Linked DNA regions of Homo sapiens: all the other regions are linked to region 1. The links are contacts of gene promoters, found by promoter capture Hi-C in blood cells and fetal thymus (Javierre and others, 2016). All regions are on one chromosome and are shown on one strand. The core of a region is centred on a gene start or on the middle of the fragment in contact, and the rest is flanking DNA. Distances in the headings are between cores, read along the strand shown.

Region 1 (7,294 bases), core at 3,173-5,672:
GAGAGTTATAATAAATACTTCAGGCCCTGACCACATTTTGTCAGAGGTAAATATTATGCTTTCTTTTTTGTTTACAGTACACAATGATCCTCATCATTTTGAGATATTTCTATATCAATCTCCCATTTTTTTTTTTTTAGTTGCTGTGATCATTTCCCCATGTATATGTTATGTGAAAGAAAAGTATTTGAGATTGTGTTCACTAACAAGAAATAGGCATTGGAAAATAAGTACATTGGGCTCAACACTATTCTGACACAATAGGAAAACCTAGTAAGATAGTAATCTTAATGGCAGCAAATGTCATTAAATTAAAAACATCTACACAGCAACAACCTAATGTTCATATTAATGAGAGGTAGGAACACTGATAGTAATCAACATCTGTTGCTGGTGTTAATATTCAACATTAAAGTAATCCACAGAGGGAAAATACAACTACTGCAGGTTAAATGACAACTACAGCTTTTCTGATTGGTGGTTGTAAGCAGAAGGTCCAGTAGCAGCAAAGTAATCAAGACGGGGTTTTCACATCATGTCTTTCCAAATAATCACTGTCCTAAGTGAGGAGTAGAAGACACTGTCACATTGAGGTATTAGTCAGTTTTCACAGTGCCATAAAGAACTGCGCAGACTGGGTAATTTATAAAGGAAAGAGGCTTAATTGATTCACAGTTCTACATGGCTGGGGAGGCCTTAGAAAACTTATAATCATGGCAAAAGGGGAAGCGGAAACAAGCACCTTCTTCACATGGCAAGCAGGAGAGAGAAGAAAGAAGGAGGAACTTCCAAACACTTATAAAACCGTCAGCTCTTGTGGGAACTCCCTATCAGGAGAGCGGCAGGAGAGAAACAGCCCTGCATGATCCAATCACTTCCCTACTTCCACAATGGGGATTACAAATGAAGATGAGATTTGGGTGGCGACACAGAGCCATATCGTATCAAAGTATGAAAGGTTTCTAGGATTTATTAGTTTGGGTTGTTAAGAGTTATACGGCTGGCAACGCTGTGCAGGGCCGTTTACTTCAGCTGCATACATTTTTTCGCTGCATGAGGGGTTGGGGAGAGCTACTCTCTTCTGGTCCTGAAAAGTAATCAAGAGAGAGAGGGATTTTTCACATCGTGTCTTAATTCTCACAAAGGCACGCTTCAAATGACGGATAAAAACCCGTCTTCCCGACTCCAAGAAGCTACTTTCTGACAGTTGTAAACAAGCTTCTTTCTCTTACTGCACAGGAGAGTCCTCTTACAGATCTCAGATCCTGACATTATTTTCAATAAAACTTTGTGCGGCCGCTAGTTTTAAATTCATGGTCTCCTGGAAGCTTTGGCTGGAGACTACTCAGCTCGTCACTGAACTAACGGCTTTTGGGGGTTCTTTTTTCCCAGTTGAGTTTCTGTGTCTTTTACACGTTTGGTTTTATGGTCCGTTGGAGGTTTTTTCACGCTGAGGGTGAAGATTCTTAGTTTCCTCAATTAGCATAAAAGCTGCTCCAAGGCTGCTGAGTCTTCAGTTCCATTCCATTCAAAATGTTAATTCCTGAGACACGCAACCTACGCCCTACTGTCCTTTGTCCCACGGCTTCTCGAGATTATCTCTGTGTTTTAATAGATAAAACGCCTTCTCTCCCCACCCGTGGGGTGCAAAGCACAGCGCATGGGGCTGGTGGCGCCCGAGAGCATCACACAACGCATGCGCCAGTCCGCAGGTGTGGGCGGAGGAGAAATCGCGTCGGCGGCAGGGGATGACGTAAAAAGGCCGCGCTGTACTGCGGCTTGTGCCGCTTCCGCAAGAAGGTTTCCTGGCCTGTTGCAGCCATGGTGCATTGCAGTTGCGTGTTGTTCAGAAAGGTCCGTGCGGGTCCCCTCAGCCTGGTCCCCTTAGCGCTGACAGCTCTGGTTCTTCTTTGCTCCCCTGTCTCTCCACTACTGTCTTCGTGGCGGCCTTTTCCTTGCTTGGTTTTCCCATAGACTTCTCCGCCCCTCCTGTAGTGGCGCTTTGTCAGTAAGCGGTGACAGTGGTGTGTGTACCTGGCGTGGTTTGGACGGTTGTTTGGGGGCAGGGGCAGGGTTTGAAGTTCTTTAGAGACATAGTGTGCACGTGGTATGAGGAACTGGGATACCTGCCTGCTGTGGCCCAAATGTTGTGGTGGTTTTTTTTCCTTTAATGTCCACAGCCTGTTTTTATATATTTCTCCTTGAGTGCGCTGTTTAAGGTTTTTCTAATGGATTTTTATGAAGACACGAAAGCGTGTAATTGATGTGCCTTCCTGCAGAACATTTAGGTCGATTTTTGTGTGGTGTCGGTCTTAAGAATCGTTTCCGTAAAAATTTACAACTGCTTTGAATTTTTATTTTTTAAATCTTATCCTATCAGTAATGCTTTTTGAAACGTTGCCTGCGTCATATTTGGCCATTACTTTATTTCTAACGACCAGAGTAAAATACTCCTTTTAAGTAAGGCTCCTAAACCCCTGAATCTGATTAATCTAGAGCAGGAAAAAAGTGTTACATATTTAATGGAACTGTAGAAACTCTCCTCGAGTATATCAGAATGGTCAATATTTCAACTTTCTTGAAAAAAAAATCCCATTTGTTTTTTATAATAGCTATCCTAAATGACTAGAGATGTGGATTATGAATTTAAGAAATTACTCCTTAAGTTATTTTGATTTTAATAGCCTAAGAGGTTAATACGTAAGTCCTTTACCTACAAGAAGTTCTTGATTTAGTGAAGGAAACAGGTAAACACTAAATGCAGCGTGAGATTTATAAAGGTGTAATAATAGAGATATAATCAAATTGCTGGGAGAGCCAGCAAAGTCAGAGAATTGATTAGAGGAATTTGGAAAGACGTTAGAAAATATGACGTTTAGGTGGATTTATGATAGGAAAAACAAATGACATTCTAAGTAGAGGAAAAGCATGAGCAGAATGGCATGTAGAAATGGCGGTATTTCATGTAGTACAGAGCAAAGAGGAAGAGAGGAAGGGTTGAGCAAGTGAAAAGGATACAGGAAGGAACTAGGCATGGTAGGTGAGCCTATTGTTCTTGCTACTTGGGAGGCTGAGGTGGGAGGATCCCTTAAGGCCAGGAGTTCAAGACCAGTCTGGGCAACATAGCAAGACCCCATCTTTAAAACAGTCGGGGTGGTGTGGTGCCTGTAGTCCCAGCCATTTGGGAGGCTGAAGTGGGAGAATTGCTTGAGCCCAGGAGTTTGAGGCTGCAGCAATGATAGTGCTATGATAGTGCCACGGCACTCGAGCCCAGGCACCAGAACCAGACCCTGTTTCAAAAAAAAGAAAATAAAAGATACCAGAAGGGTATTTTAGTAGCTTTGGATATACAGTTGACCCTTCAAGAACATGGGGGTTAGAGATGCCCCCGCCACAGCTGAAAATCTTCATGTAACTTTCAACTCCCCCCACAAAACAACTACTAATAATCTGTTGGCTGGAAGCCTCACTGATAACATAAGCCGTCAGTTGACACATATAAAATATATATATAGTATATACTGTATTCTTAAATTAAGCTAGAGAAAAGAAACAGTTACTAAGAAAGTCAGAAAGAAGGGAAAATATATTTACTGTTCATTAAATGGAAGTGAATTGTAAAGGTCTTCATCCTTATAGTCTTCATGTTGAATAGACTGAGGAGGAAGAGGAGGAGTTGGTCTTGCTCTCTTGGGTGGCAGAGGCAGAAGGGGTGGGGGTGGAGGAGGTGGAAGGGGAGGCAAGAGAGGCAGACACACTATGTGTAACTTTATGGAAGTACATCATAATTTCTGTCATGCTTTTGCTTTTCTCTTTCCCCCAAAAAAATGTTTCTATAGGGTACCAATACCTCTTCCACCATTTGCTTTGGTTTCAGTGCCTCTTCACAGAAGGGTCCATGTCATAAAAGAAGTCAAAAGCAGTCCTGAACAATAGGAGCTCTTCTGCCAGATTATCTAATGTTCGTTTTTCTGGTAGTTTATTCTGTGTTTTCTTCCTTGTTATCTGGCACTGGATCTGAAGCACTCATCAAGCTGTCTTCTGTTAATTCCTCTGGTTTGGTGGCTGTTAGCTCTTGAGTTTCTTCAAGATCCATATCTTGAAGTCCTTTACCCACTTTCCCGCCGTTTTTGGCATATTCACAGCCTCTTTCATGATTTCCTTGATTGGCTCTTTTGTAAATCCTGTGAAATTATAACACAACACAACACCTGGACAAAGTTTTCTCCAGCACGAACTTACTGTTTGGGGCTTATGGCTTTCATGGCTTTTTCAATAATAATGGCATCTTCAATTATGTAAACTTCAGATTTTCCTGAAGTTTTCTCTATTAGTGTTCTTTTCCATGGTTGACAATCCTTTTCGTAGAAAATCATGTTTAATGAGCCTTAAAGGTCCTTGCGACCCCGTGATCTAGAGGCTGATTTACAGACATTGTGTTTGGGGGCAAGGACACCACTTCAGTGCCTTTGATGTTGAACTCATGGGGTTCTGGGTAGCGGGGAGGTGGGGCACTGTCCATTAGCAGAGGAACTTTACAAGTCAGTCTCGTATTGGGAAGGTACTTCCTGACTTCAGGGAGAAAGCATCCATGGAACCAATCCAGAGAAAAGGTTTTTGTTCTCTAGGCCTTCTTATCCAACAAAGACTGGCAGCTGATGTTTATCTTTCCCTTTCAAGATTGAGGGGTTAGCAGCTTTATAGATAAGGACAGTCCTGATTACAAACACAACTGCATTTGCACAATACAGTAGGGTTAGCCTATCCCTTCCTGGCTTAAATCCTGGTGCTCCCTTCTCTTCCTTACTAATGTCTTTTGTAGCATGTTTTCCAGAATAGGGTACTTTCATCAGCATTAACAACCTGATTTGGGAGATATTCTTTCGTCTCAGTGATTTTCTTAATGGCATCTGGGAACTCATCTGCTGCCTCTTAGTTGGCAGAACCTGCTTCACCTGTTATCTTGATATTTCTAAAGCCAAAGCCAAACCTATTTCTTCTTTTTTTTTTTTAAATTATACTTTAAGTTCTAGGGTACATGTACACAGCGTGCAGGTTTGTTACATAGGTATACATGTGCCATGTTGGTTTGCTGCACCCATTAACTTGTCATTTACATTGGGTATTTCTCCTAATGTTATCTCTCACCCAGCCCCCAACCCCATGACAGGTCCCAGTGTGTGATGTTCCCCCCGTGTCCCAAGTGTTCTCATTGTTCAGTTCCCACCTATGAGTGAGAACATGTGGTGTTTGGTTTTCTGTCCTTGTGATAGTTTGGTCAGAATGATGGTTTCCAGCTGCATCCATGTCACTCATCCTTTTTATGGCTGCATAGTATTCCATCGTGTATATGTGCCACATTTTCTTAATCCAGTCTATCATTGATGGACATTTGGGTTGGTTCCAAGTCTTTGCTGTTGTGAATAGTGCCACAATAAACATACGTGTGCATGTGTCTTTATAGTGGCATGATTTTTAATCCTTTGGGTATATATCCAGTAATGGGATGGCTGGGTCAAATGGTATTTCTAGTTCTAGATTCTTGAGGAATCTAGAACTGTCTTCCACAGTCAAACCTCCTTCTAAAATTATCAAATCATCCTTTGCTGGCAATTAATTCTTTAGCTTTAGATCCTTCACATTCCTTTTGCTTTTAAGTTGTCATATGGTAACCTTACTTTTTCTTTTATTGTATTAGTCTATGTTTTTAAAATAGGAATCCTGCATCTACATAAAAGTTGCCTTTTTAATACAAGATAAAAAGTTAATTCACAAAAAGTGCAAGGTTTTCACACCTTTTGGCATAGCTGCTGCAGTGGCTTCATGAATTTTTGTCTTTTTTTACACTGATTCTTATTCTGGATTCATTTATCTTGAGATAGCAGGCCATCGCAGCTACAGATTTTAATCTGTGGTAGATATCAAGCAATTCATCTTTTTATCGTAGTGTCATGACTTTACTTCTTGGGAGCACTGCCAGCATCACTAGTGGCACTTTGTATGGGTTCCATGGTGGTGTTCAAGGTTTACAGTGTAGCGCTGAACATGATGAAAAATGCAAGAGAACTGTGAGAGATTACTTTTTACTGACTTATAAAATGTACTGGCAAGATGAACTGCTCATGGGGAGACGATTAGCATCACATGGCCTTTTAAGTGGCAACTTGGGACACTTGAGATCCCGGGATAGTTACAGGAGGTAACTACGAAATTATTACAGTATTCCACGATGTACTACAGTTAATTTTATGCAGTTATGATTTAATACTGCATTTTTACATTTGCTTACATTTCTCTTGACTGCAAATGCTGCCATGTAAGATCTGTAAGTGTGTGTGTAAGTTTTGATAAATTTTAAGTTTTTATAATAGATGTGTGGCCAGGTGCAGTAGCTCATGCCTGTAATTCCAGCACTTTGGGAGGCCAAGGCAAGAGGATTGTTTGTGGCCAGGAGTTTGAGACCAGCCTGGGCAACATAGCAAAACCCCATCTCTAGTTTTTAAAAATTAAGATAGATATGTGTATATTTTATGGAAGTAAATGACAAAATAGATTAGCATCTATATATTTTTTGCACTCATAACACACAGCTTTTCTTAATTTTTTCAATATTTCCAATCTATTTGCTTTGTAAGTTTTTTCAAATTGTTGCAAAGCTCAAAAAATTTTTCTAATATATTTATTGAAAAATATCTGTATATAAGTGGACACACGCAGCTCAAACCAGTGTTGTTCAAGGGTCAACTGTAGTACTAAGAATTTTTTACTTTATTTCATAAGCATTTTTTTTTTTGAGACGGAGTCTCGCTCTGTCGCCCAGGCTAGAGTGCAGTGGCTTGATCTCGGCCCACTGCAAGCTCTGCCTCCCAGGTTCATGCCATTCTCCTGCCTCAGCCTGCAGAGTAGCTGGGACTACAGGCGCCCGCCACCACGCCTGGCTAGTTTTTTTGTATTTTTAGTAGAGACAGGGTTTCTCCATGTTAGCCAGGATGGTCTCGATCTCCTGAACTCGTGATCCGCCCACCTTGGCCTCCCAGAGTGCTGGGATTACAGGCATGAGCCACTGCACTTGGCTCATAAGCATTTTTTTAATGCATGGTTTTTGAGTAAAGGAGAAACATGATTAGAGATCAGATCAATTTCAGAAAAATAGTTCAGGCAACAAGTTGGAGAATGCAATAAGGAAAAAATGCCTAAACACTGAAAGGAGCTCATGTGGTGCAGGTACTAGGGCAGTGGTACTGGAGAGAAGAGAGTAGGGCTTTGGGAAAAGAAGCAGGTGTAGTCTGAAAGA
Region 2 (7,294 bases), core at 2,173-4,672, 3.7 Mb after region 1:
TTTGAGACCAGCCTGGGCAACACAGCAAGACCTCATCTATTAAAAACAAACAAAACTAGAAGTCTCCATATGCTCAATGAGCAGATGCAGCAGCAGTGACAGGAGGTAACAGCACTGATCACTGAAGGACAGTCAAGGTGTGAATAGGAACTTCTTTCAAGGCACAATAGAAATTTCATTTTCCCTATGAAGCAAAACTCTCACTGATTTCTTACAGCTCTGATTGTATGTAACACTAATATTGCACTCTGTACAGTACTATAAGGGAAGAGAATAAGTTTGTTTGACTCAACACTGTATGTCCCCCCATAAACCTACAAACACATACACACTGTAAGGCACACTCAATGAATACATGATGTGAACTAATTAATGAAAAGAATCTGAGTTCACTGTTATTGAACTTTGAATGTGCATACCTTTGTCCAGAATGGAATCATATGCTTCTCTGAAGGCAAAGACAGTATCTCATGCTTCCATATCCTCCCTGTACCTAATGAGTACTTTATATGCAGCAGATACCTATGCAATCTCCACCACCACAAAAACCACAACAAAATATTGAAGAAGTATTTTCCAAACAGAAGAGAGTTGTACTATCTGAATTTTGCTGCTGACACACTATCCATGACACACTATCCATGAAGCTCTCCACATGTTTTATTATAAAAGAACTCAAGGAGTGGGCATATTTTTCCGCTCAGTCAAATATTAAAATCACCATTTAAAAATGCATTCTTACTCTGTTAACCAATGATACTCTGTGCAAACTGTAGTTTAATAAGGGCCAAGATACTTAAAGAAAGAATGTCTTCTTATTTTGTGTGGCTGAGGTTCTGAGTATATAACATTTACCCAATAAGTAATTACTGACTGGTTGAATTCAAACATTTGACAACTTCACCAAGGAATTCATTATAAATTAACTGCTATTTTTTCTTTCCTTTGTTTAGTTGCTTTTGCCTATCTTAATTTTAATTTTAGAGTTCTTCCATGCTGTTCCATTTATTCAAAGTGAAATTCTTGTTGTATTTATCGTCCAGAAATATATCAATGCACATTCCTATTAAAGAGTTGATCTTCCCTCAAACTATGACCCATCCCAAATACAATGACAAAAGTAAAAACCAAATAAAATGCTAGAATTGCTATTCCAAACAAAGCCACTTCTCTTCTGGTGGTGTACTGCTATGAAAAGTTGTAAAAAAGCTAGTGAGTACTGAAGATCATCCTCAGCCTTTGTTTATTTAGATAAACGCTACTTTTTTGGATAGGTTCTATCAGTAAGCTAACAAAACCATTTAGAGATTCATGTGAAGTGTGGCAGCTTCTGCCTATGGATATGTATCAGATTCACTATGATCCCAAATTTAAAATTTCAGGTCAATATGCATTCATACTTTAAAAAAAAAGAAAAGAAAAAATGTGTAACAAAAGCCTTTGTCACTTCACACCAATGTAAATTATAGCAATAGTAGTTACCTAGGTAATTACTTCTCCTCTCAATCACAGAAGAGCTTTTTTTTAAAAAAAAAAAAAAAAGAAAGAAAAAAAAAGGAAAAAAGGAGAAGGTAGTGGGCTCTAAATTGGAGAAATTCTAATTTTACTGGCTGAGCTGAGGTCCAGGTAACAATACTTTAAAAACTTCCCAAGGGATTCTAATGTACAGTCAGGGCTGAGAACCATTACTCAAGTCACTTTCCTGCAATTTAACATGGCACACTGCAGCAGGAAAATACTCAAAAGGGCCTAGGGGCCTACTGATGAAATCCAAACTCTTTGGCCTCGCATGCAAAGATCTCCACAGTGTGATCCCGAATCCCCTACTTCACCCAAACTGGCTTAATCATAATCCCTTACTTCTTTTGAGTTCCTCCTATCTGGAACTCACTTCCCCCACTCTCCATTATTCAAGGTCTACTTCAAATTCCTATGTCTCCACCAAATACACAAAGATCTTCCCCACAAAGTACACAGTGATCTATCTCTGAAATCTCTGAGACCATCCCTTATATGTAGAACTTATCTGGTATTTGGATGTATAGCGACACTTTGTACTACAATTTATCTTTGCACATATTCCTACTCCCCACCTAGACTGGAAGCTTTGGGGATCACAAACAGGGCAACAAACAACTGTATACCTAGAGCTTACTCAAGCACACAATAAATCTTTTTTGGTATTAAGGATGATGAACAAGAAAAACATTTAGACATATAAAGCTAAACTTGCTCAAAATTATTTCTTTTTTTTTTCTCTTCAATTTACCTGGCCCCATTTTCTATGATCTAAGTATTCATAAAAACTTCATTAAAAAAACAAAAAACTTTCTCATACTACAATTTATTGATCAATAAACAAGTCTACGGTTATTGGCAACTTTCACTGACTTTAAATATCTGACACTTTGGGGATTTTTTTTTTCTTTTTTCAATCTTATAATGACTGAGAAAGGTAATATCTTTTTTCAAATGTTTCATTTATTTTCTGAAGTATACTGCACTCTAATTTAGCGGGGTCTTCTTTAAAAAAAAAATCGTGTCCTAAGAGAAAGCTTCAGAACCAGAAAATGCCGTTCTAGTAGCTGTGCGTTACTATAAGGGTCCATTAAAATTCCTTGTGTCTAACTTATTCTTGCTGATGAGCCAGTTTCCTAACCCCAAAGGTAAAGATCAAATGTTAAGTCGCCAAACCTTAACCACGTTCTACTGCCTTAACCGTGGCACAAGGTTCAGATTAAGAAATCGCCTTTGACCCAGAAGTTCCAGTTCCAGGACCTTTAACAATAATGACACATACATTTACCTTTGTAACTCACTGTTACCAGATTAACGACCATTACTAGCGTGCTTTGGGTGCAACCACCCACTCTTCAAATTCCGCTTCTGAAGAAACTAAGATCCAGGGCCAGTAGGGAAACAGAAACCGGAGTCGGGCTTTGGAAAACATAGCAGCGTCCATAACCACGCTCAGTCAATAACACTAAAACACTCGACCACTGAGATGCCACCTGTACACACCCACCCCTAGTCCACTACTTTCTCTAGCCTACCATCCAAACTTGAATCTGACTCAAACTTAAGGAAATTCCAAAGATCTGGGACAAATGGTGTGTTTCCACTCGACATGGACCCCAAAGATCCCCTCTAGACATCCTGTTTTTTGGACCAAATGCCAGGAACATAAGACAGGTTCGATTTCCTCCCGCGCCCCAGCGCTCCCGGTTCTAGGGCCCCGAACTTCGAACCTCAGCCCTCTTCTTACCCAGGCCTGCACGCCTCATCCTGCCAGAGGAGAGAGAGAAAAGGCGGGTGCGGGGCTTTGGGTGAGTAGGAAACAGCTAGGGGCGACCCGGACCGCGTCTTCAGTACCAGGGCCCAGCGAAACACCAACTTCTTCCCCTAAAGCGCCACGACATCAGTGGAGTCTAAACACCGCGCCGGATGATGGCGTCACCACGGCGCTCATTGGAGCCCTGGGAAGAAGGTTGAAAGGCATTCTGGGAAATGTAGTTCACCAACGCATAACGTGTTGCTGAGGGCGTGATGTGAACCCGGTTCCAGGAGCGGACGGGGCGTCCGGAAAAGGGGGCGGCTTCGACTGCGGCTCTGATTCTGGGTCTCTGATCCAACGTTCCCGCTGTTCCGCTCGCAGCCCGCGGGTCGCTGCTTTCAGTTTGTTGACCACCAAGTTTAACCCAGCAGATCTGCTCCTCCCCACCCACAAGAGGATGGTTGGGGTATCTTTCCTGATTTAGCCTCGAACTCCCTCTCACCTCCAGAGACGATTCAGGGAAAGTTAGAGAAAACTTTGTCCAGGTTTCTCAGTTTACAAACAAGTAATCCGACACCCACAGAAGTAACCGATTTGTGCCTTGTAGTATCCAGTAAAGGAAAGAAAACCAGGTTCCTTTGAGTAGGACTCCTGCTCAGATGAGAGCAGACTAGGAAAGGCTGCGGGATCTGGTCAGAGGCACTGAATAGTTAGTTCCCTGTTACTGCATCTGTTGTACTTCTAGAAAGAACCAAGACTTTTAGTTGTTATGGGGACCAAAGGACCCCTAAACGCTCTCCCACTTTTTTTTTTTTAACTTACACAAAGCTTATTGAAATACTGCTTACACAAGGCAGTGTGCCAATTAGGGGTTTAAAACTTGTTGGCGAGTTGGAGGTGTTACTGGTATCGAGGTTAATCCTAGAATTTCATTTTATCTCAGAGGATTTATCGTGAGAATACGATGAAATCGTGGTTTTTGAAGGGAAAACAAAAAAACCTGATACACAGTAGGTGATCAAAATTCACTGGGTGTCTGCGGTTTTGTTGTTGCTGCTGTATATATGGCAGTGGAATCGTCTCCACACTAGAGATTTCCGAATATGTGATCTTTGATCATTTAGCGTTTCCTCATAGTTTCCCAGGACATTATTAACATTGACTATAATACTGGCATAAGTCTCTGCGTTAAGTTGCTTTTGTAAAAAACACATGAAAACAATTTTTAATAAGAGTTATTAACCTGGGAAGGAGGCTTTATCCAATAGTGTTTTGATAGAAAAAAATCATTAAAATAAAACCGCCATTTTCTAAAAGCAATGAAATTAAATAAGCATAATATCAGGGACAATTATTACAAATAAAAGATGGAGATTCAATAAAAGAAATGATAGCTAGGTATCCCTTTATAACTTAAAATCTGTGACAGTCCTTTGGTTAAAAAAATGCATGTTCTATAATTAAAACGTTTAAAAATTGCCTTACAGAAGGCTTGCTGATGGAAATGTAGAAATCGTTATTTTTGAAAATATGGTAATATTTACTAGAACTAATCATTTAGATTACATAAAATATACTGCTTCCTTTACATGGTAGGAAGACATAAGAATGAAATGTAGTTAAAAGGAAAACATATATAATGTACTAAGAATATAACTGAAGTAAGGCAAAGCTAGTTCATATTGAAGTTGTTACCTAAAAAATCCAATTATTGTTTTTAGCTAACGTTGCTAGTATCAAATTAGGATAATGTCATCTGAAAAAAATTTGCACTCAAAGGAAGAGGCAGGAAAAATGAACTCAATGTGCAGAAAAAGAATTATTAAATGTGACCATAGTTGACATTAGCGATCAGAGGGAATCATTTTCACTTTTCTCGTTGTGCTTTTTCCTTTTTAAATTAAAATCCTTAACTTTTCTTACTGATTGAAAGCAAATAAATTTCACAGAGATGAATAGCATTTAGAACCTCTTCTCTATTCTCACAGGATAGTCTCACAGAAAACATCTAATGTTTGTAGGTCTCTAGGAGATAAAGGACTAAAAATTACTTAAAATAATATTAAGTATTCCTTCTAGTAATTACAAAAGCAAGAATAAAAGCAGGAAATGTCTGAATCGAGGTGCAAAATTGGAACTTTTCTTTCTCCTATCTGTCTGCTTCCTGCCTGCCCATTTGTCCTACCTCTTCCTGACCAAATTTCAAGTCCAATCCAAGGGAAAAGAGCATACCAAGCTCTCAAAACTGGTTCAATAAACATTAACACATTTTTCAATCATGAAGCAAATTCAGTATCTCGGGTATCATATTTGAACTGTCACAAAATGTAAACTAGAAACAAAAAGCTCTTGATTTACAAACAAGCTATGGGACAAAGTTTGTTTCTAAGTTTGTTGTTTGGTATTTAAAGCACATTTTCCCTGAAGACTGAAATGATGGTCAGGTTCCCAACTCAGCCCAGAAAACACATGGCTGTTAGAGTTACTATGCTGGCCAATCAAAGTCTGTGTAACCCATAGGACAGCAGAAATACCGCGTATTTTCAAGACCAATAGAAGGAAAATAATGTTGTAATACTTGTGATAAAATAAAGCAAAGCCATTAAAGAAGAAATAGAGTGTTTAAAAATTATTTTGGTTATTCATGTTTGAGAAAGAATGAGTTTTACTTAAAAGTTTTAAGAATGCGAAGAATATTTTCAAGGAGTTTGCAAAAAGTCACCAATTTGATCTGTCTTTTCCATAATTTGGGAATATTACTAGCACTGATGGCAAGCTTTTCAGCCATAGTTTGTAAAAATTAGGCACACAATTCCAACCTTAAAGTCCTCAGCAGAGCCAGACACATAATTTGTGGGGCTCAGGGCAAAATGAAAATGTTGTGCCTCTAGTTCAGAAAACAGGGGAAAAGTTCAGTTAAAGGTATTAAGATACAAAACTTCTCTTTCTTCTGTTTTCTTCTGTAATCTCCCTACCATCGTTCCTCCCCTCCCCACACCAACTTGTCATGGTGTTTTTATTTGCTATTTAATATTCTTCTGAGTAAAGAAAAAAATAAATTATTAGCATTAATTTTACCCTTGATCTTTATATTGTGCAATGACAGTTTTAAATGCAAACATAAGAGCACGCTACTCGTGAAATCACTAAAATTACACATTTGGTATTTTGTACTTTGATATGGTTTGGATATTTGTCCCAACTAAACATCATGTTGAAATGTAATCCCCAGTGTTGGAAGTAAGTCCTGGTGGGAAATGTTTGGATCATGGAGGCAGATCCCACATGAATAACTTAGCACCATCCCCTTGAGTGAGTTCACACGAGATCTGATGTCTAAAAGTATGTGGCACCACCTCCTGTCTCTCTGGGTCCCACTCTCACCAAGTAACCTGCCCTCTCCCGCTTCACCTTCTGCTATGAGTAAGAGCTCCTTGAGGCATTACCAGAAGCTGAGCAGATGCTGGCACTATGCTTCCTGTACTGCCTGCAGAAACATGTGTCAATTAAACCTCTTTTCTTTATAAATTACCCAGTCTCAGGTACGTCTTTATAAAAATGCAAGAATGGCCTAAATAGATACCTCACACATGAATCTGTATTTCATTCTTACCATGGCAGAGCAGTCAAAACACTGCATCAAAACTAAGTCAACAGATTTTATTTCATGTCTTGACAGGCACATACTCTACCAACATTCTACCTTCAGCCTACTGATGAGTTAGGAGGGACTTAAAAGAAAGAGAGCAAGGGGTTGCCTTATCTATTCTTTTCCTTTTATGCCATCATTTTTAATACAATTGGCTAACACAACAATGTAAGATAAAAAAGTATGTGATAGAGTTCCTTGGTCATTTTCTTCTTTCTGTGGAAGAAGTTCTGGTTCAAGCAGAGCACGTGGCCTTTTGGGGCTGTCAGTGTCCATACTTATTCTGACACAAACTTAACACACCTTTTGTACTCTTTTTGAGTGTTTCTGAACTCCCATGCGTCATGGGTCCACTGGCATTCTGTGTTCCT
Region 3 (7,294 bases), core at 1,351-3,850, 3.2 Mb before region 1:
ATCAATAGGTCTCAACAAAGATTTACCACAAAAGAAGAAAAAAGTGAAGTGGATATAGAGAGGTTGTCACCAGGCTGAGGTATTAAAAGGATTGCAGAGATGAGACACATAGGCAAAATGCAAGGCGGGAAAAGGATTGTAAGATGGAGTGTCATAAGGCCCAGAGGGAAGCCTACAGGAAGAATCTGAGACAGGAGACCACCTGGTAAAGCCTGGTGTGTGGGCATAACTGGGACAGTTTATTCATTCCTCCATTAGCACAGCAATCTCCATCAGCTGGAAGGCCCTACAGTGTATACCCATCAGCTATATTAACAGGACTCAGAGCCTGTGTAGAAAGAAAATTACTCAGTAATTGTAATTTTCTTTTACTTTGAACAAAAGCTTATAAACATCTTTTTTTTTTCTGAATTAGCAAAAGATGATCATGAAACAACAGAACCTGCTTCTCAGTATTTGAAATACTTTATATTAATATATCAACCTGTCATAAAAGGCAATTTCATCATCAATCACTGATGAGGTTCACAAAAGTGTTATAGACACCTGGAGTCCAACAAAGTCAATTTTAACTAGCAAATGCAGTAAATACCATAGCTAAGCTATAAATACTTTAATAATTATTGTTTAGGATAGAAATACTTCTAATGATTTTTCTACAAAACATTTAATTCCTAAATAGGTAAATCCTTGGATAATATTTAAAACCTCATCCATTCCCTAGGTACACATTGACTAAATAATGAGGTACGGATAACATAGAAGTATAACTGCAGAAAATTGCTCTAGGAATCAAGTTGTGTTATGGATAGTCTTTACATTGATTATTCAAGCTAAAGGGATAGAGACGTTATTATATTTTTTTAAATTATGCATTAAGCTAATATTAAAATACATTTGTCATCCCCAAATAAATACCAATTGACTTGGGAAAAGGTAGTTATAAAAGAAACTCAACCAGAAAGGGAGAATTTAGTTATGAGGATGCACTTGACTTTTTGCGGGGAGTTAGCAGCGTGCAGGCTGACCTAAAATTTAGCAGAGGAGAATGGATAGCCCGACTATAATTTATATATCACTATTTTGTGCCTTAGCAAAAATAATCCTATATGGTTATGTCTTATGAAAAATATGGCTCATTAGGAACCACCTTATCAATGTTAATGTCAACAATTTTGCATATGTAATTATTATTTTATTAGAACTGCTCTTTGAGTAGTTGTATTGCTTTCCTGGCTTTAAGGTTTATTAGTTACCATTTTTAATGCTTAATACACGTCAGATTCCATGCAAACTACGCTGTCTACAATATTCTGGAAGGTACATCTTATTACTCCTAAAGTAAACAAAGCTAAAAGAGGTGAAGTGCCATATCCACTACTAAGAAATGGAGCCAAGATTCACACTCAGGTCTGACTGCCTGAGTCCATACCACGATACTATTCTGCCTCATAGTTTTGCTTACATAAACATTATTATGTACTTATTAAAAAATGGAATGATACACGGCTTAACTCCAACAGAATGCAGAGTGCCACAAATTAGTAATAAAGTTATCAACACAAGAAAATGCTGCTTCTGAGATTTATTTTTGAAAATTAGTCAAACATGTCGATCCTCCAGTAAAGCAAAGCATTTGTAAACTGGTTGTAATCATTTGTTTTCGTTATGAAAGTACTGCCAAAGTGTATTTTGTGAACTGCAACCGGGTAGTTCAGAACACAGGCTTTGGAGCTGAGGCTTCAATTCTAATTCCACCGCCAACTTGGGAGCCCTTGGACACATTCCTTCACTTCTCTTTGGTTCCTGTGTAAAATGGGATTCATTTGTAATAATTGTAGCGATGCACTTAGAACTTATGAACATTAAATGAGTTTAATATACGTAAAACATTTACCTGTCACATACGCACTCAAAGAATGCTGGCTCACATTACAGAACCCAAAGGCTTATTTATCCTTTTCGTTTATAAGGGTATTAAAACGCGTTTTCTATTTAGGATGGGTTTATACGGCTGCAACCCAAGGAGCATCTGTACTTTTAAGAGGAACTGGGCACAGCAAAACAGCATCTTCCTAGTCTAACAGTGAGACTACATTCACAGAGGACACATTTCATCAAGAACGACTTAACACGCCCAGATATCTCATATTATGCCCCTGCGGTAAGGCAAATCAAGTATGAAGACACACACTCCCTGTTTTCTTCAGCACTGAGATCACTGGTTCCCTCCGTTCCACACCGCGGCTCCCTCGGCTCGGAGCCACAGGGAACTATGAAAATCGGCACGCGAGGCCTAAGTGTCCCCAGAACCAGAGGAACCACAGTTGCGTCATAGCAGAAGGACCTCTTTTACAGCATCAGCAGTGGGATAGTCAGTGCCGAGTTTTCCTGGCAGGACAGCCGACAACCACCGCCACAGACCAGTACAAACATTCCAACCCAGGACCTTTTTTCGCGCGCCGACACAGCCGGAAGTGACGCGTACAGCCAGCACGCTGGGCCGCCAGCGGGACAGACGAGCGGGAGGGGCAGCGTGCGGGGAGCTGGGGGCGGGGCGCGGCCGCAGCTCCGTTTCCGGTGGCTCGTCGCGCTCGCTCACTCCAGCTGCAGCCACTCTCGCCCGTGGCTGCTTCCTCCATCCTGGTATTTTTTGGAGCTTCCATCCTGGTTCTTCCAAAGTGCCCGGACCCAAAACAGGAAGTAAGTGCGATGGAACCTTCAGGTTCCAACCGCCGCCAGGGCCGCTCCGCCCAGTGGAGCCTGTCCGGCCCCCTTGCTGCCCGCTAGCTCCCGCCGGCTGGCGCAAGCTGTCGGCGCCGGGGCACTGCGGGCGGGGTCGGAGCCTGGCCTTCCTGACGTTGCAGCTGCCGTCCCCGCACGTTCCGGCCAGGGCCTCCCTCTTAGGGCCGGGCGGTGCCCGTGGCTCAGGCTGCAGAGTAGGGAAGCGAGCGGCTGCCGAGGCACAGCGGCGATCCGGCGGGGGCGGAAAATGGCGGCGGCTTCGGAGGAGCTAAATGGCGCCGGGACCCCTGGGGGGTGGGGTGGGCCGGGAGGTTGAGTAGAGAACTGGGCCAGAAGGAGTGGAGACAGTAAGGAAGCCCTACTTGTTTTCTCGTGGTGTTCTATTTTTAGTTTTTATTTTTGTTACGTTTTCGGTTTTGTTTTATGGTCCAGCGTAGGAGAGGTAGGCTTGGGTGGGGTCGAGAGAGTGGGGGTGGGTCTCGACCCAACTTCCCCCCCTTTGCTTTTTTGTTCTTTTCCCTCGTTTGCGCTTTAGATTCTTCTGTAATTTTGCGGGGGTTCAGCCTTGCTCGGCGATTCACGGCCCAGACATAGAGAATCGGGATAGCTGGCCGAACCGTCTCTCTCAGTCTGACTCTCTTTAAAGAAGGGATGTGGGCTGGGGCGCGGGGACAGTCCTGGTGGAGCACGGAAAATGCGGCTGTAAAGTTGTAATTACCCTATTGTGCCGAGTTCCGAGAAAGTTCTTAAAATTGTTAAGTCCACTTTGTTCTCTAAAATGTACTTCGCTTTGAGAATTTCTTCAGGGAGGTATGTAGAATGTTTTACCACAATCTCCAGAGCAGATTTGAGAGTAGAAGTGGCCAAGTGCCCTTTTGTGCAATTGAATGATAGAGCATATGTCTTTATATAAAATACTCGGTGTAGATAAGGAAAAGGATAATAGTATACAGTATGAGTCAGGACTCCTCCCTTTCTCTCATTGAATTTGTGTAGTTGCTTTTTTCGCAACTCATTCATCTTTGTGTACCTCTTTTTAATGTACATGGATTTGATTATGTGTGCCTCCTTTCTGACAGTCGAGGCTGCATGTTGGGACGTCCTACAAAATGCATATTCTGTGGAATTATTTTTTAATATGACATGTCTTAAGCTTAAAGTGACGCCATTTGGAAAATTTTAAATTATACCTGTATTTTTAATTCGTGGGAGAAAACCATTTGTAGCTTTTAAGCTCCAAATACGAAAATATTCTTCCACTATGTTGAAAGTATTGCAAAATCTGTTTTTTTCAGTTAAGGGTTTTCATGTTTTTTCATTACTTCAAATTTCTTTAAGCTGGTTTTGAAATTATATTTCAAATAGCTTTCTGAGGATTACTGTCTTTTAATAACTTGAATAATTTGCCATCACTTTAACATTTAAAGAATGACTATGGCGATACACCAAAATCTTATCTTTTTGCTCTTATGGTGTACTTAGAGACAGGATTTCATGTATTTGGTTAGGATTTAGAAATTCTGTTAAGATTTAGAGAAAAAAGGTTAAAGCTACATTCCTTAACGTTACAAAAATTGTCATGCTGAGAGAATCCAATTTGGTGTGAGAATAATTTTTTTCTTCCATACAGAAAGCACAAAAACCAGCCTGATTGTATCTGGAAAAAACCATTATGTTACAGGTGTGAAAAATACATTTCATGATTGTGGTGATTTTTATCTCATTTTAACTCTCGATACTAGGTGCTTCTGTATGCCACCAAACAAGCTAATTTTTTTTCTTACTATTTTAGTTGATAGGCTCACCCCAAAATATGCTTTTGGGGACTGATTTAGCACCTGCATATTCTGCGTGAATCTCTTTAATTGGTTGCAGTTGAGCTAATGGTGGAGCCAAAATGCTATTGCCCTGTCTTCATCAACATTTAATCAGTAAGTACTGGGCATTGCATCTTTCTTAGAACTTTAAGTTCATACGTTGCAGTTATATGAATACATTATTTTATGTAAACATTTTTCTGAGTGTTCAGGTTTTAGAAGTATTTTGAGGGGAAGAAATCAAAGTTTGGGCGTTATGACTTGAGCTTTGAAAACAGCATGGTTGGGAAATGTTTACTGGTGGAGACTCATATCAAAAGTAGATAGCTGTCCTCTAGTCCTTTTTTTAGAGATCTCTTTTTTCAATCCTTTAGTTATCTCATTACACCCCAGGGGTGCTTTAAAGGTGGGGAGATAGTGTATGTATTTTATAAGGTTAGTTTGATATCACTGGTTAGTATTTAAATAACAACAAAAAACTTGCCTTTACCTCCTCCGCAAAAAATCTTACCTTTCTATTAGCCTCATTTATCTCTCCAAAATCTACAGACTCTAATTTTTATTAATGGTGTAATAAACTTACATGTCCTGAAAATAACATCTCATTATTTTAAACAGTTGCCTTTGCCATGCTTCATTAAGTGCATTGGCTTAAATTAACACCTGTGAGGATGAATGGGATAATGTGAAACAAGTATTCCTAAGGATTTACTGCCTGGCACATAGATGTTAAAATATTGAGGGAGCTTAGAAGTGTTTTTGAAAGTATTGACGTCTTGCATCACTTGTATTAAACACACATCTGTCTGTTGCAAAGACATCAAAAGCTTAGAAAGGAACAAAGTTTAAGGAGGGTTCATTCTACTTTTTTTTATATCTTATGTAGAGACTGCATATTTAACACTGAGGTGGTGTTCTGCCTTTCCAAAATGGAGTTTTCCATTTTAATAGTCCATTTTTTTTCTTACCACCATCATATTTTTCCTATATGAAAGGATTTCCTAGGAATTGATATACTTTTAAATGCTTTGCAATTGCAGCTCCTTTATGTCTCCAAATGATACAAGAAGACCCGAGAAAGTGGTAAACTAAATGATTTTTATTAAAGTAATTGCCAAATATTAAAGATAAAATATGGATAGTTACCAAATGTATGTGGCGTTTGTTTACTTTCATGTCATTTCTCCGTTTATCTTGATGGTGCTTTCATTTTGTGAAGAAAATTCCTGTAATAGAAATCACAAATAGATTTTGTGTTTGCTTTGATTCTATAAAGGTAGATAAGTTTAAATAAAAGGAGGAACGTGGTTGTGTCTCCCCCACCCCACCCCCGCCCCACCCAAGTTTGTAGAAAGATAATCCATTCCATGACTGAGTACTAGAAATAAGTTGTCAGAGAAAAGCACACTGGAGAGCTCATTATGAACAGTTTAATTTTCTATCATTTCATATATTTAAATGTCATTTTGATTATGTACACTGTTAGGTCATTCTTCCAAGCACCAGTGGTCAAAGCTGATTCATTCACTTCCCATCAGGTGTTACGTATCAGAAATGCTCATTAGGTTTATTTTAGTGCCGGTGTATATTTTAGTATCTAATGAGTAAATGTGCTTTAAAAATTAACTTCACTGTAAATCACAGGTGTCTGGTGATACTGTATATGTCCATGTAAAGAGCCTCTGATGGTGCCTTGTAGAAAAGTACTCAGTTTTGAAAGGATGAAATCTTTCAAGTGTGGCGAATAACACATTGTAAGCTCCTGAACCATGCATGAAGTGAAAAATAACATTTTTGCTTTTTGAATAAGCAATATAGTTTTATTGTCAAACCAGATATGAAATGCTGCACCTTAAAATCCTTGCTATTAAGTAATCCTCCTTACTCAAGTAATAGTGACATTGTTTTCAATAGTTGGTAATTGAAATCAACAAAGCCTGCTAGAATAGACTCCACTAACAGCTCTGTTGACATTTTTATGATATATAATCATATTTTACCATCTTAAAACCAAGCCATAGTAAACATTAATTAGGTACCTTAATTGAATATGCCTTATGTTCATTTATGGCTCTGCTGCTCAAACTTTTCCACAAAGTATATAGAGGAACAAATCCCACGGGGCCTGGCACCATAGTCCAAAACATTCTTCTTCAAGTGTGTAGTGTTCCTATTCGTATCTTGAATAAAGTTTGTGCTTATGAAGATGTTATGCTTATTCTATGACCTTACCTCTTGTCTGACAGCCCTCTGTGTACCCATGTTTAGGATGTATGAATTTGTTACCTATTATCTTCCACTAAGATTTTCTACTAAGCAGACTTTCATTATTTCAAAATAAACATATCTTAAAATTTATCTTCCAAATTCCTTAGACGTTACTAAGCAAATTCTCTTTTAAGTAGTTTTTAAAGCATTAGTTATACAATGATAGAGTAATAGTCCATTTGGAGTTTTATAATAACATAGCTACAAAAATGTTGAGTAATAGGTACGAATTAGATAAATTTAGATCTATGTGCTCATTCAAAATGTAAAGTAGTAATGATACTGGAAAATGCTCCTGATACAGTAAGTACAAAAAAGTGTGACAGTATGATCTTGTGAAAACAGTAAAAGATAGGCATGCTGATAACATGGGTAGAAGACTTGCAAATCACATAGAAAGAACATGAATGATTTTTCTTATACTGTATTGGGTCAGGAGAAAAAAACATCTGAAAACTGTCCTT
Region 4 (7,294 bases), core at 2,251-4,750, 3.0 Mb before region 1:
TGCTGTGTTTTTCACTTTCTGTTCAGGACCACTACTAAATGCTGAAATGTGGATGCATACCAAACTAAAAGTGATTCGTTGTGTACTAAAGTTTTTTAAAATTATTTGTGTAAAATCATCTTTTGAAGCAGAATCAAGTCTGAAAAGCAACTGATGTTTCCATTAATCTTTTTCTGGGGAAAACCTCAGTTCTAAGGATTTAGCATCCTGTAAGTGAAGTTTAACATAACAGTATTCCATAAGCAGCCTTTTTATGGTCAGACCATTGCCTAATTTTAATATAATTTTAAAATGTGTGCATTAATTAAAAAATGGGAAAAGGATCTTAATAAACATTTCTCCAAAGAGGATATATAAATGGCCAATAAGCACATGAAAAAATACTCAACACTCTTAGTCTTCACAAAAAAATGTAAATCAAAACCACAAGACACCACTTCACATTCATTAGAGTGGCTGTATTTTTTTTAAAAGACAATAGCAAGGGCTGTTATATTGTTATTGTAACTAAAGGCACAGAGAAATTGAAACTCATATTGCTGGCAGATATGTAAAAACGGTACAGTTCCTTTGGAAATCAGTTTGACGGTTTTTGAAAATGTTAAACATAGAGTTAACATACGACCCCACAACTCCACTCCTAAAATACTAATTGAAAGCCTGTTCACACAAAGCTTGTACACAAATGTTTATAGTACCATTATTTAAATAGACAAAAGGTAGAAACAACCCAAATGTCCATGAACTGATGAATGGACAAACAAAAAGTGGTTCATACATTCATCAGTCAGTTGATGAATCATGTTTAATGCCTGTTGGTAACACAGAATTTAGAGCCACTTTGCTTCACTCTTTTCCCAGTCTTGTTATTTATTTCAATGGAAACAAAATGTTCCTGTAAAGATGCCTGGATTTTTGGATATAGAAAAAGTTGTGGGACTGAAAAAAATGAGTGGAACAGAGATTTGAGTATGTAGAAAATAATCTTTTTAAATATTTGAACCAAATGTTCTAAAATTAGCTTATGGTGACTGCATAACCCTGTGAATATAGTAAAACCATTGATTTGTGGACTTTAAATGGCCGAACTTTATGGTATGTAAATTATATTTCAACAAAGATGTTAACAAAATTTTTAAATGTTATATTTTGTTTAGTAAGAAGGTATTTTTTTCTGAGATGCAAAAACATCATAGTTATCTTAACTCTTCCCCTCAGATTTTGGTGGCAACTTTTCATGTACTGTAAATATCATCAAAAGCAACCCCAAATCAATGATTAGTACTAAAAAGAGACCTTTTGTATCAAACACTGTTCATCTGCTGTTGGCAGTGGAGTTCATTTTTAATGCTACATTGCCCTCTTTGCGTCCAGTGTACTTTAATTTGCTGTTGGCTGCTTCCCAAAATGACCATATTTCTACTGCCCCCCCATTAAAAAGAAGAAACATCACAAAATTATTTCTTCAACATGTTCATTTTATACATCAGAATGAAAGGAGGTTACAGGTCTCCCATAGATTAGGGCTATTTACCATATCTCCTTACTTATTAGAGTCACAAATCTTAGCAGGAAGCCAGTTATGCAGATTGAAACATGAACTTCTTAGTCTAGCATTTTAATACTTTTTAATGGTGAAATTTATCTAGACTTATCTATAAAGTCTTTTGCAATTTGTGGTATGCTGAGTAAGAACTACAGAAGAACAAAAATAAAAGATTTTTTTAATGGCAACTTAAAAAATTATCACCACTTGTACTACTTACAAATTTTCCTCCAAAAAGTTACTTTGACTCATAGTCAATTTTTAATCTTGGAACAACTTCTTGCTATCACAAATACTTCAAGTGCCTAAAACATCTTCCTTACCAGCCAATATCTCCCGCTCCACTCTAAGAAATGCAAACTCGTTCAAGTTTAACCTGAATGCAACATAATTTGGAATCTTTCATTAAAATATATATCACACATTTTGAAGCCAAACATATTTTAAAATACCTGTTTTTGGTGATTTGGGGTACATATGCTTATCAGTATAACATATTTTAAAAGATTTTTTTCTACATACTCAAATCTGTGTTCCATTCATTTTTTCACTCCCACACCTTTTTGTCTATCCGATAATTCAGGAATCTTTACAGAAACATCTTGTTTCCATTGAAATAAACAACAAGAGTAGGAAAAAGAGTGAAGCGAAATGGTTCTAAATTCTATGCACCAACAGGCATTAAACATGCATAAACTTTTAAAGAGATGCCAAGACTCACTAAAAAGGAGAAAAAAAATACAACGAAGGTTTCTGAGTAGTTTTTAGTTACTCAATTTAAAAACTTTATCTTGTAAGCAAACTTTAACATCATCCAGAGCATCGCACTTATATATGAAAGAAAAAGTTCTTTATCACACCTTCAGAAATTACAACTACAAATTCCTAATCCCTTATTTAAAATCTTTTTGGCTAGATATGTTTCAAAATTCAGAACTTTTCTTAGAATAGTACGTCTGCCATATATTATGAAACACTTCCAGCAAGCTGTACTGTAATCAAACACAATATTTCTGTAGAAAACTTATGAATATTTACACAAAGGGAACATTCAGTTACACATAGCCTCACTTCCCTTCAGGTCAAACTTTACTGCTAAAGGAGTTAGAAACGACAGACAAAGGAATGGGGCCTGTCATGACATGTTAATTTGAAATCTAAATCTTTATCTTTGATAACTAGTTCAGAGTCAGTGTAAACATTTGGTCTTTCCTTCCACAAAAAAATGAAACAGTGTATTTAAAATTAAAAATGAAACAGTATATTTTATTTCAGAAGGTAAAAGCAAAATGAATTAATCTGTGAAACTAAGTCAATCACATTATGATCTTCTAGAACTTGGGTAGCTCCACTCTGGTTAAAGATTCCATTTCTTGGCACAACAGTAAAAGACATCAGATAGGCCCGGGGGTAAGCATCCCTGGGGTATTCAAATAACTTGGGTAGCAATGAAGAGCTGCAGAAGAGCAAGGAGACCCGAGATGATGTAGTGTGCTGCGGCATACCTGAGTTGGGCAAACTCAGCCTCCGAAGATTAAAGGAAAGAGCCCAAGTAGGAATCTGTGTGATCACTGTTCTTTTGCCAAGACACGGGGTGGACAATAAGATTCCTTTACAAAGCACTGGTGTAAGTGTTCGCCTGGTGCTGCAAAAAGCGGCTCACTGGGAATGGGGAGGAGCGTGTGGTAAGCCAGACCTGCGGCGAGAAGTTGGGTGAAAATGGGTCTTAACCATCGCTTCCTGCATCTATCCCAGAGGGTTGGGTACCTTCGTGGGCGGAGCGCGGCCTGCCCAGAGTGCCTTCTAGATCCTGGGTCAGGCGCCAAGCTCCCCAGCATCATGCAGGAAGCTGCAGCCCCGCAGAGTTAGGACAGCTCATTTGGCACCCGGCGAGCCCTTCCCAGGCCCGCAGCCCAGAATAGAGCCGGGGCCCAAGACGCCCACTGGAGACAGGGTCGGGTCCCACTACCGCGCAGGCCCGGCTCGCCCCCGACGTCAGGCACGGGGCGGGACCCTTGCAGCTGTCCGTCCAGTCCCGTTCCCCGGAAAGTGAGGGGCGGGACCCTCGCGGCTTTCTATCCAATCCTGTTCCCCGGCGAATGCGGGGCGGGACCCTAGCGGCCTTCAGTCCAATTCCCGCACCTTTGAGGCCCAAGGGGGAGCGAGCCGGTGCTGCTGCAGGCTGAGGCTGCGGCAGAGGCGGCGAGGCGCGGGCGGTGAGGACGGACAGGTCCGTTGAAGCAGCATTCCCTCCCTCCCCTAATCCTTCAACTCGGGGGCGGGGGAAAGTTAAGTCGTGCAGAACCGCAAAGGTGCCTGGATTTGGTGGGGGAGTAGTGTCATCAAGCATCTCGCCTGCTGGGGTCTCAGGGGTACCCTCAAGGTTGGGCCGCGGGGCTGCTCCGTTGTAGTGCTTAGATTTCTCTCACTTGATGGCCTCTTGAGTGCAGAGTTGCTCTTGGGTTGGTGGGAAGAGCCTCCGAGCTCTCATTGCCCTCTGCTCCTGCTTCTACCCCTTGCCACTCTGCGACGAACCTGTTACCCAGCCACTGAAAACGTATCCTCTACCCTTTGAACCCGTCTAATGGAAGGTGTACTTGTCTGAAACCTACTTAATTGTATGATCATTTACTCCTGCTCTCTAGCAGGTGGACTATTTGCGTGTGTTTGCAGTGATTCACGAAAAGTTTGTCTTGGGAACTCCCAACTCCTAGTTTGTCTGCATTCCACCTTCTTTCACTAGCTTGTTCATTTCTTTTTCCCTCTTAAATATTTGTTAAGCTTGTTTCTTTCTTCCCACAGTCACCGACTTAGTCCAGTTCCCTGTGATCTCAAAACAATTGTTGCAGCAGGCTCCTGGCAGTCTCAAGCAGTTCATCTTCTTGGTGTACTGGTATGTGACAATTCCTTCACGTATTGTTCGTGGTTCTTTTCCACTTTCTGTGAATTCATATCTAATTGCCCCCAGAAAGTCAATTCTAATTAAATCTAGCATAATCATTTTCTTAGTGCTATTGGAACCATCTTATTTAACTTAATCTTTGTGGTTGAGAATTCAAGAAAACTCTTCAAGAAAGAATCCAATAATTTATATTTTTAATGTGTACCGGTTGGTGGGTTAAGCACTATAGTGGGTATGTAACTAATACTCTTGCTTCCAGTTTTCTAGAGTCTATTAAGTGGCACAGAGGTAAACAGAATAGCTTATCTTCTCTGTATGTGTGTACTAGTCTTCTATTGCTGCCTTAACCAATTACACAAATGCAACAATTAAAACAACACAAATGTATTATCTCATAGCTTCTGTAAATGTGAAGTTTGGGTGGGCTTAGCTGAGTACTTGGCTTAGAATTTCACAAAACCGAAACCAAGGTTTCTGTAGATTTGGATTCTTTTCTGGAGGCTCTAGGGGAGAATCCACCTCCAGGCTATTTCAGATTGTTGGTAGAATTCACACTGACATTTCTATATCCTTACTGTTTGTCAGCCTGAGCCTCTTTCAGTTCTTTAAGGCCATCTGCATCTTCAAAGACACCACAAATCCTTCTCAAGCATTAAAGCAGTCTTACTTGTCTGCCACTGGCCAGAGAAAGCTCTTTGCTCTTATGGACTCAAGTGATTAGATTAGTTCCAATTCGATAATATCCCTATTTTAAGGTCAGTTCTGTAGAGAATATCACAATCACAGGAGTAATGATCTCACCATATTCGCAGGTTCTGGGGATTAGCAGGGGTGGAATCTTGGGGGCCATTCATAGTAATTGTGCCTACCACAATATGGTGGTTTCAGGCAGGATTATTTTGTTTTTATAATGTGCTTTCACAGGCATTGAAAACAAATTCTGACTTTATTGAATTGTATGATTAACCACTCTAAGATAAGGAAATTCACTTAAAGTTGGTTGCCCTAGGGGCACATGGCTAGAAAGTGGCAGAGTCTGTACTTGGATCCAGATCTACATTTCCATTAGGTACAAACCCATTTTTATGGATGGTCAAAATGGTGTGCAGCCAAAGTCAATAGATAGAAAGAAGCTAAAGAACTTTGAGTTAATTATTATTTCTCATTTTCAAATTATCTCTTTATATTAGTGGTACAGGCTAAGCTCTTCTCCCTACAATAGAAAGCCCAAAATACAATGGTATGAATAAAATAGAAGTTTTTTTTTTTCCATACATCTAGAGGTAGGAGTCCAGGACTAGTAGGGAGATTCTGCAATCCTGCATATATGACTTCCATAAATGAGGCCATGGTGCTGTTTAGTTCGTCACTACCTAGCAGGTAGTAAAAAGGAGGGAAAGTGCAGGGAGAACACATGCATTCCTTTTTGGGAGCATGACCTGGAAGTGACACACACAAGGTCATCACAAAGCCACACTGAGCTCCAAGAGAGGGTAGGAAAGATAAAACTGGGGGCTGTATGCACAGCTACAACTCAGGATTCTGTTAAAGCAGAGGAAAACAGGTATTAGCTGAAAATAGTCTCTTCTGTGTCCATGTTTTTGATAGTGTTCGATTCTGTAACCTATGAGTGGAATACTTTGTTTAGCGTTGCTATCAGTTTTAAAAAATAGTTTTTGAGAGAATAGGAAGTTCAAATTCAATATTAACGTTCTTTGATTTCTCAGTTGCTATTTTAACATATAATTACATTTAATATATTACATTATTTAATATAATTAATATATGATAATTTACAAAGGCTTTGAGAAACCTCATTTTTTATTTAGCATTTGTATACCTTATTCACATTTTGAGTTAGATTTCTTTGATAGCAATTAATACACGTGTCAATATGTTCAAGATTGCTTTGGAACACTTGAGACCATTCTGTGTAGACCTCATACGACCTGTGCAATTAAAGCAGCTTGTCATATGATTTATGTATTCTATAATAATCTTTAATTCTACAGTTGGACACTTCCACACCTCTTTGTACTTTGTGCTCCAAAGTTTTCTATATCAATGCAATATCAACACATAATCCTTTTCTATACATCAAATACTATCTACCCACTAAGATTTACTGCAGGTTCCCTTACCTTCTATCATGTTGTTTTGTATAGGGGAAAGATTGTAGTCTTAACAGATCTGGGTTTGGGTCCTGTGTTTGACATTAGGTAAGTTACTAAATTTCTGAGTTTTGATATATTCATATGTAAAATTGCAAAGAATGCCACCTTTCAGAGATAACATAAAAGTTAGAGAGCTAACACATGTTTTCTGTAATGCAAACTGGAGTACCTGGCAAATGCTAGGTGTTCAATAAATGGTAACTAATTATACCAGTCCCACTGATCACTCTTTACTTCTAGCACTTTGTGTCTACACATTCTTTTTAAGTTGGTTTTCTCTATCTGACAGATTTATAAATTTCATAAAAGCTGGTACCAAGTCCTAGATATGCTGTGGTCCCTAAATACTGGTTTAGTGAATTGTGAATTGTACCTAGGATACGTAACACTATCTATGAGATTGAAGTTGTGAGGGCTCTCTCTCTTTTCTTTAGGTTTCCTATTGTGATTTTATCATGGAAAATCAATTGGCTAAATCAACTGAAGAACGAACATTTCAGTACCAGGATTCTCTTCCATCACTGCCTGTTCCTTCACTTGAAGAATCATTAAAAAAATACCTTGAATCAGGTATGTTAATAATCTTTTAGTATATATTAATATTATTAGTAACTTAGAAAACTGTGATACTGTTGCTGGAGAAGGGGTCTCGATCCAGACTCTAAGAGAGAG

Evidence for each region. The method cuts DNA at HindIII sites, captures the fragments that hold promoters and counts their contacts. A CHiCAGO score of 5 or more calls a contact.
Region 2: a contact is called between the fragment with the promoter of BET1 here and a fragment that was not itself captured in region 1, in 4 of 17 cell types (non-activated CD4 T cells, total CD8 T cells, activated CD4 T cells and 1 more). The highest score is 7.6, in non-activated CD4 T cells.
Region 3: a contact is called between the fragment with the promoter of DMTF1 here and a fragment that was not itself captured in region 1, in 1 of 17 cell types (fetal thymus). The highest score is 8.9, in fetal thymus.
Region 4: a contact is called between the fragment with the promoter of TP53TG1 here and a fragment that was not itself captured in region 1, in 3 of 17 cell types (non-activated CD4 T cells, total CD4 T cells and activated CD4 T cells). The highest score is 7.1, in non-activated CD4 T cells.

The regions. Positions count from the first base shown.
Region 1 is chr7:90,344,921-90,352,214 of GRCh38, forward strand. GTPBP10 (GTP binding protein 10) reads left to right here and starts at 1,796. Exons shown (of 10, transcript NM_033107.4): 1 at 1,796-1,854. The coding sequence starts at 1,822. All of the region lies in intron 1 of LOC107986715 (a long non-coding RNA gene), which reads right to left. RefSeq lists enhancers at 1,262-1,401, 1,612-2,041. The HindIII fragment of the contact is 6,192 bases long and covers 1,327-7,294 here.
Region 2 is chr7:94,000,933-94,008,226 of GRCh38, forward strand. It overlaps BET1 (Bet1 golgi vesicular membrane trafficking protein), which reads right to left and starts at 3,423. Exons shown (of 4, transcript NM_005868.6): 1 at 3,266-3,423. The coding sequence starts at 3,284. RefSeq lists enhancers at 2,633-3,239, 3,240-3,845, 3,300-3,349, 3,360-3,989. The HindIII fragment of the contact is 1,547 bases long and covers 2,554-4,100 here.
Region 3 is chr7:87,149,853-87,157,146 of GRCh38, forward strand. DMTF1 (cyclin D binding myb like transcription factor 1) reads left to right here and starts at 2,601. Exons shown (of 18, transcript NM_001142327.2): 1 at 2,601-2,703. It overlaps DMTF1-AS1 (DMTF1 antisense RNA 1), which reads right to left and starts at 2,641. Exons shown (of 2, transcript NR_136253.1): 1 at 2,450-2,641; 2 at 1,571-1,806. RefSeq lists enhancers at 1,671-2,234, 2,150-2,389, 2,235-2,796 and a silencer at 6,012-6,141. The HindIII fragment of the contact is 3,514 bases long and covers 383-3,896 here.
Region 4 is chr7:87,341,992-87,349,285 of GRCh38, forward strand. TP53TG1 (TP53 target 1) reads right to left here and starts at 3,501. Exons shown (of 3, transcript NR_015381.1): 1 at 3,052-3,501. It overlaps CROT (carnitine O-octanoyltransferase), which reads left to right and starts at 3,673. Exons shown (of 18, transcript NM_021151.4): 1 at 3,673-3,776; 2 at 4,349-4,439; 3 at 7,057-7,192. The coding sequence starts at 7,078. RefSeq lists a silencer at 3,489-3,698. The HindIII fragment of the contact is 3,653 bases long and covers 673-4,325 here.